Regions from separate parts of the Homo sapiens genome. Here region 2 is linked to region 1. Evidence: promoter capture Hi-C in human tissues and cell types (Jung and others, 2019). All regions are on one chromosome and are shown on one strand. Each heading gives the region's core, a stretch centred on a gene start or on the middle of the fragment in contact. The rest is flanking DNA. Distances are from core to core; before and after follow the strand shown.

Region 1 (7,713 bases), core at 2,000-4,499:
ATATGCTGTCGATATGTAAACTGAAATCTTGCAGGCTTTTCAACACTGCTTAGCTAGACTTTCTCTACTGAGTTTCTACAAAAAGACCAGCATTGGAGGGGTACCAAATACACCGACAAAAGAGAAAAAGCAGATGGGCTGCTAGGTTTCTGCTTTTAAAAAATTTCATATAAGAATTGGGTTTCAAGCAGGAAGCCAGAACTTCTGCCTCTGGTTCTTAAATTAACATTCGGTGTGTAATGGACAATAGGCAGGGACTCATAATTTGACTAACTCACATGCTCAAGCATGATCGTGTCCAATTTCTACAGGCCTCCTTTGTAAAGAAATGTGTAACAATGGGGGGAAAGTCATAATTCTACCTGAAAACATGGATTGTAAGAGGAAATAAAAAAATCAAACAGTATGTTTTAAGTTTCCCTTTTGATACTGTGTTTCAGGGTAAGTGACAGCTTCTGCAAACCAAGACTCAGTCCTGATTATAAAGGATTTTTAAAATTACATTATTAAAAATATGTATTTATTCTTCTTTCACTTTATCTATTTTCCAAAGCCTCTTTCAAGTAAACTGTGAAGTGCCTGAGTACCAGTGACCATGACGTCACACTTTCTTTTATCTCAAGCACTCATTGTTGTTTGCATTTGCCCAAAGTGCTGGCTGGCTCCGAAGGCCAGTTCCCACAAGAATGAATTCGGAAAGACTTCATCCTTGTGTTTTTCCTTCTCTTTTAATTCCATGCAACGAGGTCAGCTTTTGCAACAAGGTGGGGTTTTATTTTTTTGGTGCATGACATCAAATACTCTAACGAGACATTTTTAATGAAAGACTTAAACCAGATAGGCCACAATGAACCAAATTAGAAATCTGAACATGTCACCACTTGCAGCATAAAGGAATATAAAAGGGCAGAGCAAAGTCTTTTTTCCTAAGGTGAATATTTCTAAGGTAAGTATTCATTTGTAAAAGTTTTTTTTTTTCATCATGTCTGAAAACCCATTATCACGCGGTTAGTATTACAAGAGACATCCCTTGGTTAAAAAAAAAAATACCATCTTGCAATTCAGCACACACCTGCAGCTGGTGTGCTCATCCAAACCAATCAGTAGGCTAAGAGAATTTAAAATTCCATACATATGAGTCTAGGTATTAATGCCGATTACACAGTACACAGTACAGAGGGAGGTCCCTATATCCACACACACACACACCCCATCCAGCATTTACACCAAAAGCCTTACCCTTTAAACACCTTTAACTATCCTGCAAACAGTAAATGCATCATTGGCCACCACCTCCAATAGTTCGTCTTTTTTTTTTTTTATTTTTTTTATTTTTATTGGTCTCTTTGTGTGATAATGACCTACACATGGACAGGGTCCAAACCATCTGGAAGATGTCTGATTCCAGGCTGAAAAGCAGTTCTCAACAAAACTGGTCTTCTGCAGCCACCACAAAGCACCAGGAAAAGGGCACCTCCGCGGCCATCCCCAGCCAGGCCAGCACAGCGCTCCGTGCCCGCTGAACCGTCCCAGGCAGTCCTCTGATGACCCAAACCACCACCACCTTTGGGCCCAGAGCAGGACAAATGAAATTTCAACAGGGGCCTGCCCTGTGACCGAAAATTACTCAGCTTCACAGCCCCTGAATGCAAGGAGAGGTGGTCCCCCCAGAACCAACATGCCCCCCAAGGTGGGTACGCCCACGGTTCTGGGAAATGCATACCTCAGGTAATTCACAGGTGCGATCCCCCAGTGGAGGCGGGGCAGCCTGAACTTCTGGCCCTGCAGGAGTGGGAAGAAATCGCTTTTGTCTTTCCGACAACTGAGCCTTCCACCTGGGGCTGGGAGGGCGGACAGCAGGACCGGCTCTTCCACTCCCCACCGCGGCCCCCCGACCTGGTCAGTAGCTCTGGCGTTCAGACAAAAGGTCCCCTGAGCTGGGGGTGGGGGGCAGGTCGAGAGTAGGCCGGTAAATCAGACTTCGCAGCTCCTTAAGTCACCAGTCCTGCATTTGGGTGCAGAGATTCCGTTTTAAAAATTCGAAGCATCGCTTTGGTTCGCTCTTTGTTCGCGGGCGCGGGTTCTCGCTCATCCATCCATCCATCCATCCAACCATCCATCCATCCATTCATTCTTTCTTGACGCACTCGCTCGCTCCCCGGTCGCTCCGGGCGCATTACCGCTTCTTCTTCTGCTTGAGGGACTTCCTGCGTTTCAGGATCATCTCATAGAGCTTGTCCATGCCCTCGGTGAGGCCCTCGCCGATGATGGCGCACGCCGGCTGGACGTGATAGGTGGTGGCCGGGATAAGCTCGTGCAGCGCCAGCTGCTTCTCAATCTCTGCCACCGGCAGCGACTTGGGCAGGTCCTGCTTGTTGGCGATGACCAGCAGCGGCGTGCCCTGGTTCTCGGCGAACTTGGTCACCTTGTGCAGCTCCGTCTTGGCCTCCTCCAGCCGGTCCACGTCCACCGAGTCCACCACGTAGATGATGCCGTCCGTGCAGCGGCTGTAGGACTTCCACAGCGGCCGCAGCTTCTCCTGGCCGCCCACGTCCCAGAAGTGGCAGCTGATGCCCTTGGCCGTGCCGTTGCTCAGCTTGATCTTCTCGGTGTTGAAGCCGATGGTGGGCACCGTGTTCACGAACTCGTTGAACTTGAGCCGGTAGAGCACCGTGGTCTTGCCGGCCGAGTCCAAGCCCAACATGACGATATGCAGGGACTGGAAGGCCGAGATGTTAGAGGAGATGTTGCCCATGGCTCCTGGCTGCGGCGCCAGCCACTGCGGCTGCGGCGGGAGGGCGCCGCCCCCCGAGCAGTCACGGGCCCGACGCGGCCGGGCGCACCTGGGCCCCGCCCGCCGCCGCCCGCACCGGCCCCGGGGCTCGGCGTCCCCGCGGGCGCACGGCTTGGCGCGCTCAGACGCCGCAGTCCCCGCGCCCTCGCCGGCCGGGCTCGCGATCGGCGGGCATCGCGTCTCTACGCGCGGCTTTGTCTCCCGCGAAGCCGCCTCAGATGTTCGGCGCCCTCCCCAGGCCTGGGCTCGCTCTGTGGTTTCCTCGGGCCGCGCCCCCGCGCTCCGGCAGCTGCCCGGGCTCTCCGCTCTCCCGGCGCCCGGCGCTCGCCTCTGGCCTGGGACGGCGCTGCTCCTGCTCCTGCTCCCGCTCCCGCTCCCGGAGCGCGGGCTTCCCCGGGAGTCGCTGTCCGCTCGGCAGCCTCACAGTCCCCGCGCCGCCGCAGCAGCCGCCAGCCTGCAGCGGCCGGAGAGCTCCCGGACCCGCCCCCTCGCGCCCCGCCCCGGACCCGCCCCCGGACCCGCCCCGGGCCCCGCCCCGCCCGCCGCCGGGGGTCAGGCGCGGTCCTCCCCGCCCAGCCGGCCGTTTTCGCGCGCTTCGCTGCGTCCCCGCCGCCCCCCGCCGCCCCCCGGCCCCTCCCGCGCCGCGCCGCGCAGACACAATGGGCGCGGAGCCGGCTCTTCCTCCCCAGCGGCTGACGCGTTTGCAAAAATAGCTCTCGGCTCCCGGAATCCCCGCCCGGGTCCTAGCCCGCCCCCTGCCCCTCCGGGCCGCAGCCGTGGGCGACGCAGCCTGCCTGAGGGAGTGGGTCCCGGGGTCCCAGCTCTGTGGGCGCGAGGCGGGGCAGGGCGGCCCCCAGGGTGACTGGGAGAGCGCCGCTCTGGGGAGTGAGGGCGGCGAGGCTGGGGCCTCCAAACCCCAGAAGGGACGGGACGGGGCTGGCCTCGGTGAGCTGCCAGCCTGCGCTCTGGATCCAGCCGGGCGCGTCCCCTCCCACCCTCGCGCCGCGGCTGTCGCCGGCCCCGGCCCCCAGTGACGCCCAGGCTCGCCTCCTGCCTGGGTTCCAGGGGGCTGCACCCGGCCAGCGCCGCCCTCCGGAGCCCAGGCCTGTGCCCAGGGCACCCTGGAGGCCCAGCCTTTCTTGCCCGGTGGCGGCGGTTGGGGCAGGGTCGGACCTAGGCCGCGATGGGGGATTAGAAGACCTACCTGCCCCAAGTAGCTCGGACAGCTCACCCTCCCAGACACGCCTGGGCTACCTCATTTCGTCCGCATCGACTCTGCTGACATCCCAGGGGAAGCGTCAGCATTTCGGGAGAGCACCCCTTGCCACCCGACTTTGGGAACTGAGAACCACCTGCCCGCAGGTGAACTACTCCGCAGAAATGGCAACACCAGCCCCGGGGGCTGAAAGAAAATGTGTCTACAGCTTGGAGCTGGTGGCGCAGTGGGTTACAAACACTGATATTCCACGGGTTCCACCTCCTGTCACCTCAGTTCAATGGTTTTATTCTGGTTTGTAAACATGTAACAAATGTATATCCTCTCTGGGTGCGGAGAAAAGTGAGAGTATATTATGGCAAACACACAGATCTGGGGAGAGCTGCTCCGCAGGAGACAGCAGGCCGCAGCATGGGCGACCGCATCTTCCCAGCTCTAGCTTATGAGACAGAAACGACGGAAACGGGGTCAAGGGAGAAGAAAATGAAAATGCTAAGAATTTATGAATAAAAGCTAGAATTTTAGAGAAATACTTTATCACCTTCTGTTCACAAACCACGAAAAGACATATGATATCGTTGGTACCAAAGCATGTGAGAAGACCTCACCTGTAGAAGGAAGGACAAGCCACCACCACCCCTATCCTTGGAATTCCCAAGGTGGCAGCCGGAGCGACCATCCACTCTACTGAGTGGATTTGGGGCTGGAAACGAAGTATCAGGCTGGAAAGGACCCTGCCTATCATTCCACCCAACGTTGTCCAGTGAGGTAACAAGGCCTAGGCGCCCGTGACGGCTAAGGCAGAACCTAGAGGCCCACTGCCTGCTCCAGGACCAAGGGTCTGTATGCACAAAACTGGGCACCTGCCTGCCCTCTTCCTCACATCCCACTCTACCCACACGCTATTTCCTTCAATGAGGAATAAAGTGAGCCACCCGAAGGATAGAGTTCAACAGAAAATATTGGCTGCACTGTGCCACTTACTTCATTTTAAATAAAAATGGAAATGTATTCACTGACATCACTGAAAAGTTAAGGATAAAGGTCCTCTTCAGGCATGGCTAGACCCAGGAGCTCAAAAGGAGTCTTTCGAGCAGGTGTCTCTCCAGTCCTCCTCCGTGTTCCCCTGTGTTGATTCTTTTTCCTTCTGGCAGCCTTGGACTCACATCCTTGGTTTAGATCCTGGAAAGGAAAAGGTACAACTCTTTCCCAGTAACTCTAACCAAAGCCTGGAGCACGCACCCTGGATCAAGGACTGCAGTCCAGGAGGAGGGAACACACCAGTGGATGTGGCCCAGGGGTTGAAATCGGGAAGGGTGGTTCTCCAAGAAGAATCCAGGATCTGTCACCAAAAGAGCAACTCTAGTGAGGCAACAGAAACAACATATGTTGGCATAATTCATAATGATGATGTTTCCGTTATTGGGAACCCTGGGGAGACAGGATTTTGTGTTTTTGGAGTGATTTTCTTGACTCTCTTTAATGCCTGCCCCATAGATAGCCAGCTTCTCATGAGACTGTTTCTTGTTTCTCTTTCTTCTCTGCCACAGGCAGGGCCGAGGCTGAGCCCCAACCCAAGATGAGCCTTTGGTTTAGTAGCCTGGGACCTGGACATTTGGAAAGAGACAGATCAGACTGGAAGCCTCTCCATCCGGCTTCCACAGATTACCTTTGTGTTACTTCCTTTTCCCCTAGTCAAGACTTGCTTTAAGTTTTAAGGTGGTAGGAAGGAGATATTTTAGTAAAGTATCCGATGTATCTTTTTGGTGCTATGCTAATTATTACCAAGAGCCTCAGTGGTTTTGACTGCAGCCTCCACATTTTGCACCACCATGATGGGGTTTAGCAATAAAGGGCTGTCTGCTGTCCAGTAGGAAAAAACAGATTAATAGACATTAATAGAGCCTTCCAGAACACAGCCATTAAACAGCAACTCACCATAATTGAATAGCAACCACTCTACCTGCTAATTTCACTCACCAGGTGATAAGTTAATTTTACAGTTGATAATTTAACTTCTAACACATAAAAATATCATTTGGTTGAGTCGACTGGTAACTTTCCTTCAAATGTGGATTTTTATTGAAAAACACTGGAATTATGAAAAGGAAGGTAATGTTTACCACTCATATCAGACATGTAAGGCCTACTTTGAGCCTATTTCTTCATGGACATACATCATGGCTAAATTCCACTGAGTGGAAAATATTGGCTGCACTGTGGCACTTACTTCATTTTAATTAATCAGAAGGAGAGATTTTTTCAAAGAATAGCATGTACTTGTGTCTGCCTGAGATGAATTCCTCTTCCAGCAGCAGTGACATTTCAGGTCCTCTCCTTTCTATTCTTCATCAAGATGACTGCATCCAGAGAAGAACTCAATTATTTCAAGCAAACAGAAGGCAATAACTTGGCAGTAATTTTGAAATTGCATCCTAAAATATTCTCTTTTTTTTCCCTTTAAGGGCTTTGAAATAAAATGTGCCACCAATTAAAATGACTTTTGAGTGAATCCGATGAGCAATATATCATGGCATTATTATCTTTGCTTGAGTAAGGCTAATAACCTAAAATGCAAAAGGGAGCATCCCATTTATTCTTGAATATGATGAGTAAATAAAGACCAGAACATGGGCACACGTGTACACACATACACACACGCGCGTGCGCGCATAAGTGTGGGGTTATTTGCATGTTCTCACTGCAGACCTGCTGTGGAACTCTGGGTTCAGGTTCACTGCCCCGGTGCTTAACTGTTATAATACAGGAGTGCCCTCTGCTGAGCTTCTCGGATAATAGATGAAGGGCTCTACAGAGGCACATTGGCCTAGTGCTTAGCAAATGTTCAGTCCATAGTTATGGAATGAATGATGGATAAGTGACCCCCTGCTTTTCTTCTCTCTATGGAGATGCAGGAATAGAGCCCTACTGGTTAAACTGAGAAAGTGCCAGGGGCCCATGGGTGCTTTGCTTGGGGCTCAGAGCTCAGAGCCATTGATGCCAGTGTGGGTCTTGTCTGTGAGACCTGTGGGTTATCTGCTGGGAGAGGGGAGCCAGGAACCTGGCAGAGCAGGAAGTCGCTTTACTAGGAGAACTGTTCAAAGAATCACAATTGGTGGAAGAGATCAGAAAAGAGCATCCAGGAAACCCAGCTGAGACCAGAGAAGGGAAGAAAACTGATTTTTGCATCTAATTCGCAGGCAGGCATGAGCAGCTGTAAATGGAGAATGGGGCTGGGAGTCGAGAATGAAGGAGGCCAGTTGGCAGACAAAGTGACAAGGCCTGAAGCTCCTGAAGCCAGGTGGTCCAGGATTGAAGCCTTTTATCTGTCAGGAGAGGTTCCTTAAGGAAGAACCAAACCAATACTTCCAGAAGCCCCAGGGCATGCTAGACAAACCAGTCACCATCACTGCAGTGCAACCCCCTCAACTCCAGGAGAAACGCCGACTCAGGCTACGTAACAGTGGAAGCCACTAAGACACTGGTGCCAAGGGAAGTTTTGTGGATGGGACGGTAGATCTGGGGGGAGATAAATGAAAATCTGTGATGCCTGCAAGCTCCTGCTTCATTCAAGTGGTCCAAAGCCTGAAAATAAAAAAGATCCACTACTCTATTGGCCATTCAAGTTTATAATTCTAAGGAAAAAAAAATCAGGGTGCCTTATTTTTTATTTTGCTAAGCAACAGGGCTGAAACAATTCAGG
Region 2 (7,713 bases), core at 3,043-5,542, 1.0 Mb after region 1:
CGGCCGGGCACTTCTTAACGTTATGAAGAGCTTTTGAAGATAGGGTTTCTCTTGTTGGCACAAAATTCCCACATTTGGCTGCACCCTACTCAAAACTTCACTGTTTTCTGGCATCTTCAGGAATTTTTGCTGTTGGAGTGAGGTGCAGCCTTGTCCAGGGGAAGGATGTTTTGGCTAATGCTTATTTCAGAGCGCGTGGAGGTGGGTCTGGGTTGTAAAATCTCTTAACGATGGACTAAACATATTTTAGTTGAAAGGCCCACCAAGGCTCCCAAATAAAAACACATCCGTAATCCTGTTTGTAGGCATGGGATACAGGTGATTTTGCCCTCAGTCTTGTTTTAAAACACTAGCTTGTCAGAAGAGAACAGTTTTTTTCCCCCAATTTTTGTTTTGTACATTGAGAGGTTTATTCCCCCCTCCCTTCACCCCCAAATCACTAGAGTTTAAGGAAGCATTGCTGATTGTTCCAGATTTATCTGATCAGGTTTCTGGGATGTCCTATGGGGCATGGCATGCTGTGAAATGTAGCCACACAGCTGTGTCGTCTCTGGAGCCTCCGCAGCCACCATGCCCAGAAATGAGCCTGAGAGCCATCTCGCCTCCAGTCTGAACAGCGTGTGTTAGTTTCCCCTCTGGTTCTCCTTAGAAAAGTCCATCGGGGGTTGATGGCATTGAGGTAGATGAATTAACTGCCTTTCTTGTTCAATAAAGCTTGTTCTTCTTTCAAGGATAAAGCCTCTCTTAGCAGTCACACATCGTAATTCAGCTTGCCAGCAGCAGGACCGTGATGTGAGTGATAGCCCAGCCAGCTCATTCAGCCAGGCGGCCCGATTCCCAGGTTCCCACGCATCGCCGGGAAGGTTGGCCTTCCTCTGAGGTTGAGCCCTCATCCAGCCCACAAGCCTCCATCCCCACCAGGTGGCCGATGAGAGGAAACCCAGGCTCTCCACTGGCCTGGCACTTGGCAGGAGAACCCTGCCCTGCACTTCTTAAGGGCATTTCCACAGGGAGATTCCAGGACCCCTTAGTAGTATCTCAGCCCCAGTGTTTGGGGGACCTGGGAAGATGGGTCAGGGTTCCCCACTTTGTCCCATGATACAGCTGCTCTGTTGAGCATGTGTGTCCCACAGAGTGCGGAGTGTCTGAGGTGCATCATCTCAGTTCGTCCTGCAGCGATCTTGTACACAGACGCACTGCTGAGGCCAGAAAGCTTAGGACACTTGTGCGAGAGCGGTGAGCTGGGCCCGTCCGACCTCACCTCTGGCCCTCTGTCGCCGTGTGAGATTGCGGAGCCCCTGTTATTCATACTTCCCATAGGCCGTGTGTGCAAAGCATCCCAAGCTTGTTTCCGCCACCCAAGGCAAGAGGGTTTGAGAAGGCCCCAAAGAACCTAAAGTATTCTGTTCTCTGTAAAGCAGCTGACTGTGGCAAAACTTCCAGAAGCATTTGTTTTCATGTGGAAATGTATTTAGTCCGGTTGATGCAGGTGTGCATGTTTAGGGAAACAAACATTTTCTTCCTGCTGTGGATAAGTGTCATGTTTCTTTGTCACCATTGGCCATGTTCATAATCCTTCAAGTTGAATGAAAGGTGGCAGGTTTGCAGTCCCCTCCTTAAAAATAACACTCAGTTGGCTTTTAGTTGCTTCCAGGTGAGCTCTCGTACCTTGCCGGCACCCGGGACCTCCACAATGCGGGCGTTCCTTGTGAGTCCAGCTTACTCATGCTTCTCAGTTGTGGTGCAGGTGCTCTTTGAGATGCCGCCTTCTCTGCCTGTTGCTCACCCTGCGAGGCTCGGTCTCTGTTGGTGTCACTCATGACCAGCCTTGCCTCGCCAGAATTAAGGCCCTCCTGGTCTCTGCCCACCGTGTTTGGCTCATCTACTTAATCAGCTGGGAGGTCTGGAAGCTGGTTGAGGGCAGAAATCAGGGCTTGTTTATTGCTGTATCCTCAGTGGTTTGATAGATCACGTCTGGCCCTTGAAGGATGCCCAGGGGTTTGTTGGCTGGCTGACTTGCCAGAGGGTCCTTTCCAAAGCTCCTTCTTGGTAGGATAAACAATGTTTATACGCTGCAGAAGTGAGGACAATTTGAAACGTCCCCAGAGCACAGAAGTTAGGGTTAGACACCTTTTGGATTTGGTGGGCTGGCTTGGTGGGAACTCAGTGTCATGTGGTGTTTGGGATGGAAGTGAAATTTTCTTTACTGTAGGTAGGGGAAGCAAAAGATTTGCTTGCTAAATCTTGGCAGCTTTTTCAGATCAGCTGTCTACAACAGGTTGGTGTTTATGTTGGGTGTAAGTGAATTTCAGACATAGAATCAATATTAAGAGGACAAATGGGTGACAGCCTGTGTCACTGCCATGATATAGTATCTTTGGCGTCACACCGAGAGCAAACGTGAGTGTGTGTCAGGTCACATTGAGGGCTGATGGAAACAGATTGCCGGCCCCTCCCATACCTCCCGAGTTTCTAGTTCTGTGGGTTTGGAGCAGGACGCACGAATGTGCCTCTCTAAGAAGTGTCCTGAGGATGCGGATGCCCTGGTCCAGGGACCGCACTTCTGGAAGCATAGCTGTAAAGGAAAGGCAGCTCCAGTTGACTTGGTATCATCTCTGGGCCGTTGTTTCTTCTTCCTTGCTGTGCTTGTAGCCAGCTGAGAAGGTTTCCTATCAGCCTGCCCTGCAGGTTTCAGGTGAAGACACCTAAGGCCAGCTGCTCAGGGAGTTGCTTGTGGTCACGCAGGCTAAGTGTGGTGGACGAGGGACTTAAACCAGATCTGAATGGTTTCAAGCTGGTGTTCATGTGATCTTCATGATGCTGTTTGAAAAGCAGCTGAATGCTGGGTGAGGGGCCTGTCGTGCCAGACCCCTTTAAATTTCATTAGGGATGGCACCGGGTTCAAGAGACTGGAGAGGAGACCTAGAGCCAGCAAACAAAAGACAGAGGGTTTATTAGGGGAATTTATTTACAGAGTGGTCCCATGGCGGCCTGGGCAGGAGAAGCGCTGCTGCTTGCTTTCAGAAAGCGTGCAGTTTATATAGCATTTTCGCTTAACACCCTCCCCCAAACAACCACCACCCAGCAACCTTAACACCAATCAAAGAGCCTCAATACCCTGTATGGCCTGCTTTCCATGGGACAGGCTGGGGGTTTAGATGTTCCTCATAGATAAGGAATGAATCTCTGGGTTGGCCACTCCCGGATTCCTTAGCTCAGAACCCCGAACATACATTCAGGTGCACCTGCCATGTGGGGCCATTCTCAGTTATTGCTGTCAGGGGCATCTGTCAGTGGGCTGCGTTTCTGCGACACGGTGGCATGTCGGATGGACATTGCCAAGAGAATCTGGTTAGGAGGTAGAGGCAGCTGATGTCCATTTCCTTCTAGACTCATTCTGTGGTTTTGCGGATTTTCCTTCTTGTCTTTCGGAGATTGTTGCTTTTTAATGTAGTCTTATGTATATTTAGATTGGGTTCTTCAGTATTCACTTATTATATGATAATTTGGCAGATGACACATTTTGTTACCAATATTTCCAAGCTGAAAGCGCGTTTCTGTAAAAGACAGGAGCTAGATGTTACTAGTAGCTTAAAAGAGCTGTTGGAGGAGCCTGAAGGAAGTGACTCATAAGGGAGAGAAGCAGTGGGGGCAGCTGCAGGAACCTTCAAAACAAAACCTGCAGCCCTGTTGCTACCACCTCTTGTTTTTTGCCTAAACCAGGCGTTTTATTTTGTTAAGACGAAAATCCCTTATTTTGCATCCGTTTTTCCCCCTGTATACCCTGCAGGTGTTTATAGTTTGTGAGTCTCACTCTGGCTTGTTTTAACCACTGATTTCGTTTCGTCTTATGTTTCTCTACACTCTAGCAAACCTGTGTCCCCCTCCCCGCCCCCATCCCAATCCTCCAGCCTTCACGTCCTTAGCTTAAGTGATTGAGTCTGGCAAAGCGGATGAGGCTTAGCTATTTTTAAAATCCAGGGTTTGAGGTTCTGATCTGGTGCTTAGCTACATAATTCCTTCCCTTTGTTAAGTACCTTTCTCCGAGAAACAAAATGCACTCTACAGATGTTAATCTCTAATCTTTGCAGCATCTGTTATTTTTATTCAGGGGTACAAGTGCTTTGTGTGTGCTGCGGTGAGCCCTGGCCTTCTGGAAGCTCTGTGCTTCTGAGGGGCTGAGGGGGATTTGGGGGTCCCTTTTCATAGTGTGGGCTGTCTTTCCCAAGATGCAGTGATGACCCATCAGAGGCAGGGTTGGTATTGTCCGTGGGGTCCAGTCCCTCTATCTTCCAGGGCTTTTCTGGTCACAAGAGACCATGGCCAGAAGTGGGTATCGTGCTTGTGTCTGGGGCCTGGGGAGGGAAGGAAAACAAATACCACCCCCTGCAGAAGAGATCGTTAATGGATTCTTTGAGTAACCAGCCAGATAGCTTGTTTGTGTGCGAGGTTGGGACATTTTCCGTAAAGAGCAGACTAAATATAGGCTCGAGGGTGGGGACCAGGGCCCGAGAGGGGGCTGCCACTGCTTGCTCCAGTATTGTTTCTTCCATTGGTAACCAGAACTTGCCACCAGTCCCAAACAGGTGGCCACCCTGAGCTCTCTGGGAACAGATTGGTGTTTTTGTTTAACCAGGGGCTCATTTGCAAATTTCACACTTCTCCCGCTGTTTGATGGGGATTGTCTTTTTTTGGGCTGCAGTGTTGGAGTATTTGTACAGTGTTTCTACACAAGCAACTGTCTAATCTTTAAAACTGCTCATGCCGTCTGGTTGTCATTAGCATCATGGTTAGAAGCTTTTTATTTGCCTTTTTTTTTTTTTTTTTTTTTAAGGGTGGGAAAACACTTTTCATGGTTCTGGGAGAAGAATTTCAAATAATGTCCATGTTCACAAATGATTTATGTTTGGTCTTGGAGAAATGTCAGCATTCAACAGGCTCTAGTAAATACAACCATGTTGATTTCCAGCTTAGGACGAAGCTACTGTTACCCTGTTCTCACTCAGATAATAGTCTGAAAGGCAGAACCGTACCTTTAGAAAGTACATTTAGCTTCAATTCAATAAGTTTTAGTTTTAGCCAATAGTGACTTGTAGTATGGAGGATACTTGAAAGAAAGAAGTTAAACATTTTTTAAAAAATTTATGAACACCTGCAACAAATAGCCACAAGACCTACCCTTTTTTCAGGAAAGAGTTTTCACTTCTTAAATGTCACCTTGGGGGCATGCCCACTGTGTGATGGTACCCTTCAGCAGGATTGGTATTGTCGGAAGTGCTGGCTAGCTTATGTAATGAAAAAGAAATTGATTTGGAAAGAGCTGATTGCCCTGAATTTCCATCCTGTTTGTGCGTTGAGCTGCCCTTTTCAGTGGGGGAGAATCCAGCATATTTTCCAGGGAGGGCGTTTCCGGAAGCCTGTCTGCACCCCCTTTGTTGTTGTTTTCGAAGGTCTGGGGTGCTGCTGTGAGCCGGGATCGCGTATCTGCTCCTGTTCTGACGAGACTGCTCCTGCTGGAAGTTCAGCCTGGTGAACCTGATTTGGGAGGGGATGGTGTGATTGGCGGGGAACAGCATTGTGTTAATTTTAGCTTCAACAATCAAGCCTGGGTCTCTGAGTGTCCATGTAGTACTTGAAGTTTGGGTTTGGAATTGGTGGGATTGAGACCACTTCAAACTCTTTTATTTCTTGGAACTTGTTAGTATTTATTTATTTATTTTTTGAGACAGGGTCTCACTCTGTTGCTTAGGCTGAAGTGCAGTGGCACTATTGGGGCTCATTTGTAGCCTCAACCTCCCAGACTCAAGTAATCCTCCCACCTCAGCCCCCGCCAAGTAGCTGGGACTCCAGATGTGCACCATGCCTGGCTAATTCATTGGATTTTCAGTAGAGACGGGGTTTCACCATGTTGCCTGGGCTGGTCTTGACATTCTGGACTCAAGCAATCCACCTGCCTCAGCCTCCCAGAGTGCTGGGATTACAGGCATGAGCCACTGTGCCTGGCCTAGTTTTTAATTTTTGAGACAGTCTCTGTCAATCAGGCTGAAGTACAGTGGCACGATCGTGGCTCACTGAAGCCTTGCTTTCCTGAAGCGATCCTCCTGCCTTGGCCTCCCAAATAGCTGGGACCACAGGCACGCACCACCATGCCCGACTAATTTTTTAATTTTTTTTGTAGAGATGGGGTCTCGCTATGTTGCCTTGGCCTCCCTAAGTCTTAGGTTTACAGGCTTGAGCCACCACGCCCAGCCTCGAACTCTCTTTTTTTTTTGACACATAACAGAGAAAGGTGCCCAAGTCATAAAGGAGAAAGTTTTCACAAACTGATCACATGTGGGACCAGCATCCAGTTCAGTGGCCAGCACAGACTCATCTGTCGTGAGGGTCGTTAGAAATTGTAGCCCCCATTTATTGGTCTCTTCTGCCTGTGATATGTGCTTGAGTGGTTGCCTGTTTCGGGGGCTGTCAGTGTTTGAGTGGCTGCCTGTTTCGGGGGCTGTCAGTGTTTGAGTGGCTGCCTGTTTCGGGGGCTGTCAGTGTTTGAGTGGCTGCCTGTTTCGGGGGCTGTCAGTGTGTGAGTGGTTGCCTGTTTCGGGGGCTGTCAGTGTTTGAGTGGCTGCCTGTTTCGGGGGCTGTCAGTGTTTGAGTGGCTGCCTGTTTTGGGGCTGTCATGAATAGCACCACTGTGCAGATTCTCACTTGCCTTTTGGTGCCCATATGGCCTCATTTCTGTCGGGTGTGTGCTGGGCTGTGTCTTTCTCTCTGTGGGTTGGACGTAGCTGCTCGTGAAGCCGCTCCTGCAGCCCAGCAGCCCCTATCTGGGAAACCTTTCAGTGCTTTCAAGGTTCATTTTATGACACTCAGGATGGCCGTTTGTCTCCTTTTGCTGATTTTCATTCTTTCAGTTGTTTGTTCATAAACAAATGTTTGCATGGCTAATGCATTTCCAGCACTTAGAGATTAGGTTTTTAAACTTTTGGATTGTCTGCAGGCTATTAATTCCTTGTTAGTTGAATAATGACGGCTGTGTGCATGGAGCTGTGTGAGCGAAATCCCTCACCAGGAAGAGGGCGCAGTTCCTCTGGGACTGGAACAGGGGCCCCTTTGGCTCTCCTTGGCTCCTGGCAGAAGTCAGTTGTCAACTGGGGGACTCTTTCTGGCTGAGCCCCAAGCAGCCTCAATCCATCCCTGTGCTGGGTTTTAGATAACCCACTGGATCTGTGTTGGTCTTTGAAAGGGAATTCACTCTGTATGTTTGGCCTAAACTGTGTTATGGCCTTCATAGTTACGTATTAGCATTATTCAGTTTTTGTTGTTTGTAGCAATTATGCTGAAGACACAAAAGAAGAAAAAAAGCTAAGTGTTGCCAACTCAAGGAGTAATTTTCTTTGTTCCAGCGCTGTGTCCTGGGAGCTGCCCATCCCCCTCCACAAAGGCCAGTGCTAAACAAGGCCAGAGCCAGGAAGGACACGCGGGGCCATGGATTGAGTGAGGGCAGTGTGTGCGTGTGTGGATTTCTCTGGTGGCTTTGCAATGGCAAATATTTATTTTGAGGGATGGTGGTGGGAGGACCAAGTTTATACTCACTTTGTTTAGTAGGGGAAGTGGCTAATGTGAGAATCAATAGACAAGATTTTATCAAGCCTCTGCACTGGGCAGAGCGCAGTTTTTGAAGCTGGGAGAACAGGCAGATGTGTGGGACACTCAGGGCCC

What was found. The method cuts DNA at HindIII sites, captures the fragments that hold promoters and counts their contacts. A contact is called where the count stands out against the background at its distance.
Region 2: a fragment that was not itself captured here is called in contact with the fragment with the promoter of ARL4C in region 1 in 1 of the 25 tissues and cell types used here (mesenchymal stem cells).

The regions. Positions count from the first base shown.
Region 1 is chr2:234,493,832-234,501,544 of GRCh38, forward strand. It overlaps ARL4C (ARF like GTPase 4C), which reads right to left and starts at 3,250. Exons shown (of 2, transcript NM_001282431.2): 1 at 2,181-3,250; 2 at 1-2,005. The coding sequence starts at 2,755. The coding sequence ends at 1,975. RefSeq lists silencers at 2,828-2,927, 3,038-3,327 and an enhancer at 3,512-4,285. The HindIII fragment of the contact is 18,774 bases long and covers 1-7,713 here.
Region 2 is chr2:235,497,891-235,505,603 of GRCh38, forward strand. All of the region lies in intron 1 of AGAP1 (ArfGAP with GTPase domain, ankyrin repeat and PH domain 1), which reads left to right. Among named protein-coding and RNA genes, the nearest start is that of AGAP1-IT1, 4.0 kb to the right of the region's middle. RefSeq lists enhancers at 2,576-3,181, 7,153-7,659. The HindIII fragment of the contact is 8,188 bases long and covers 199-7,713 here.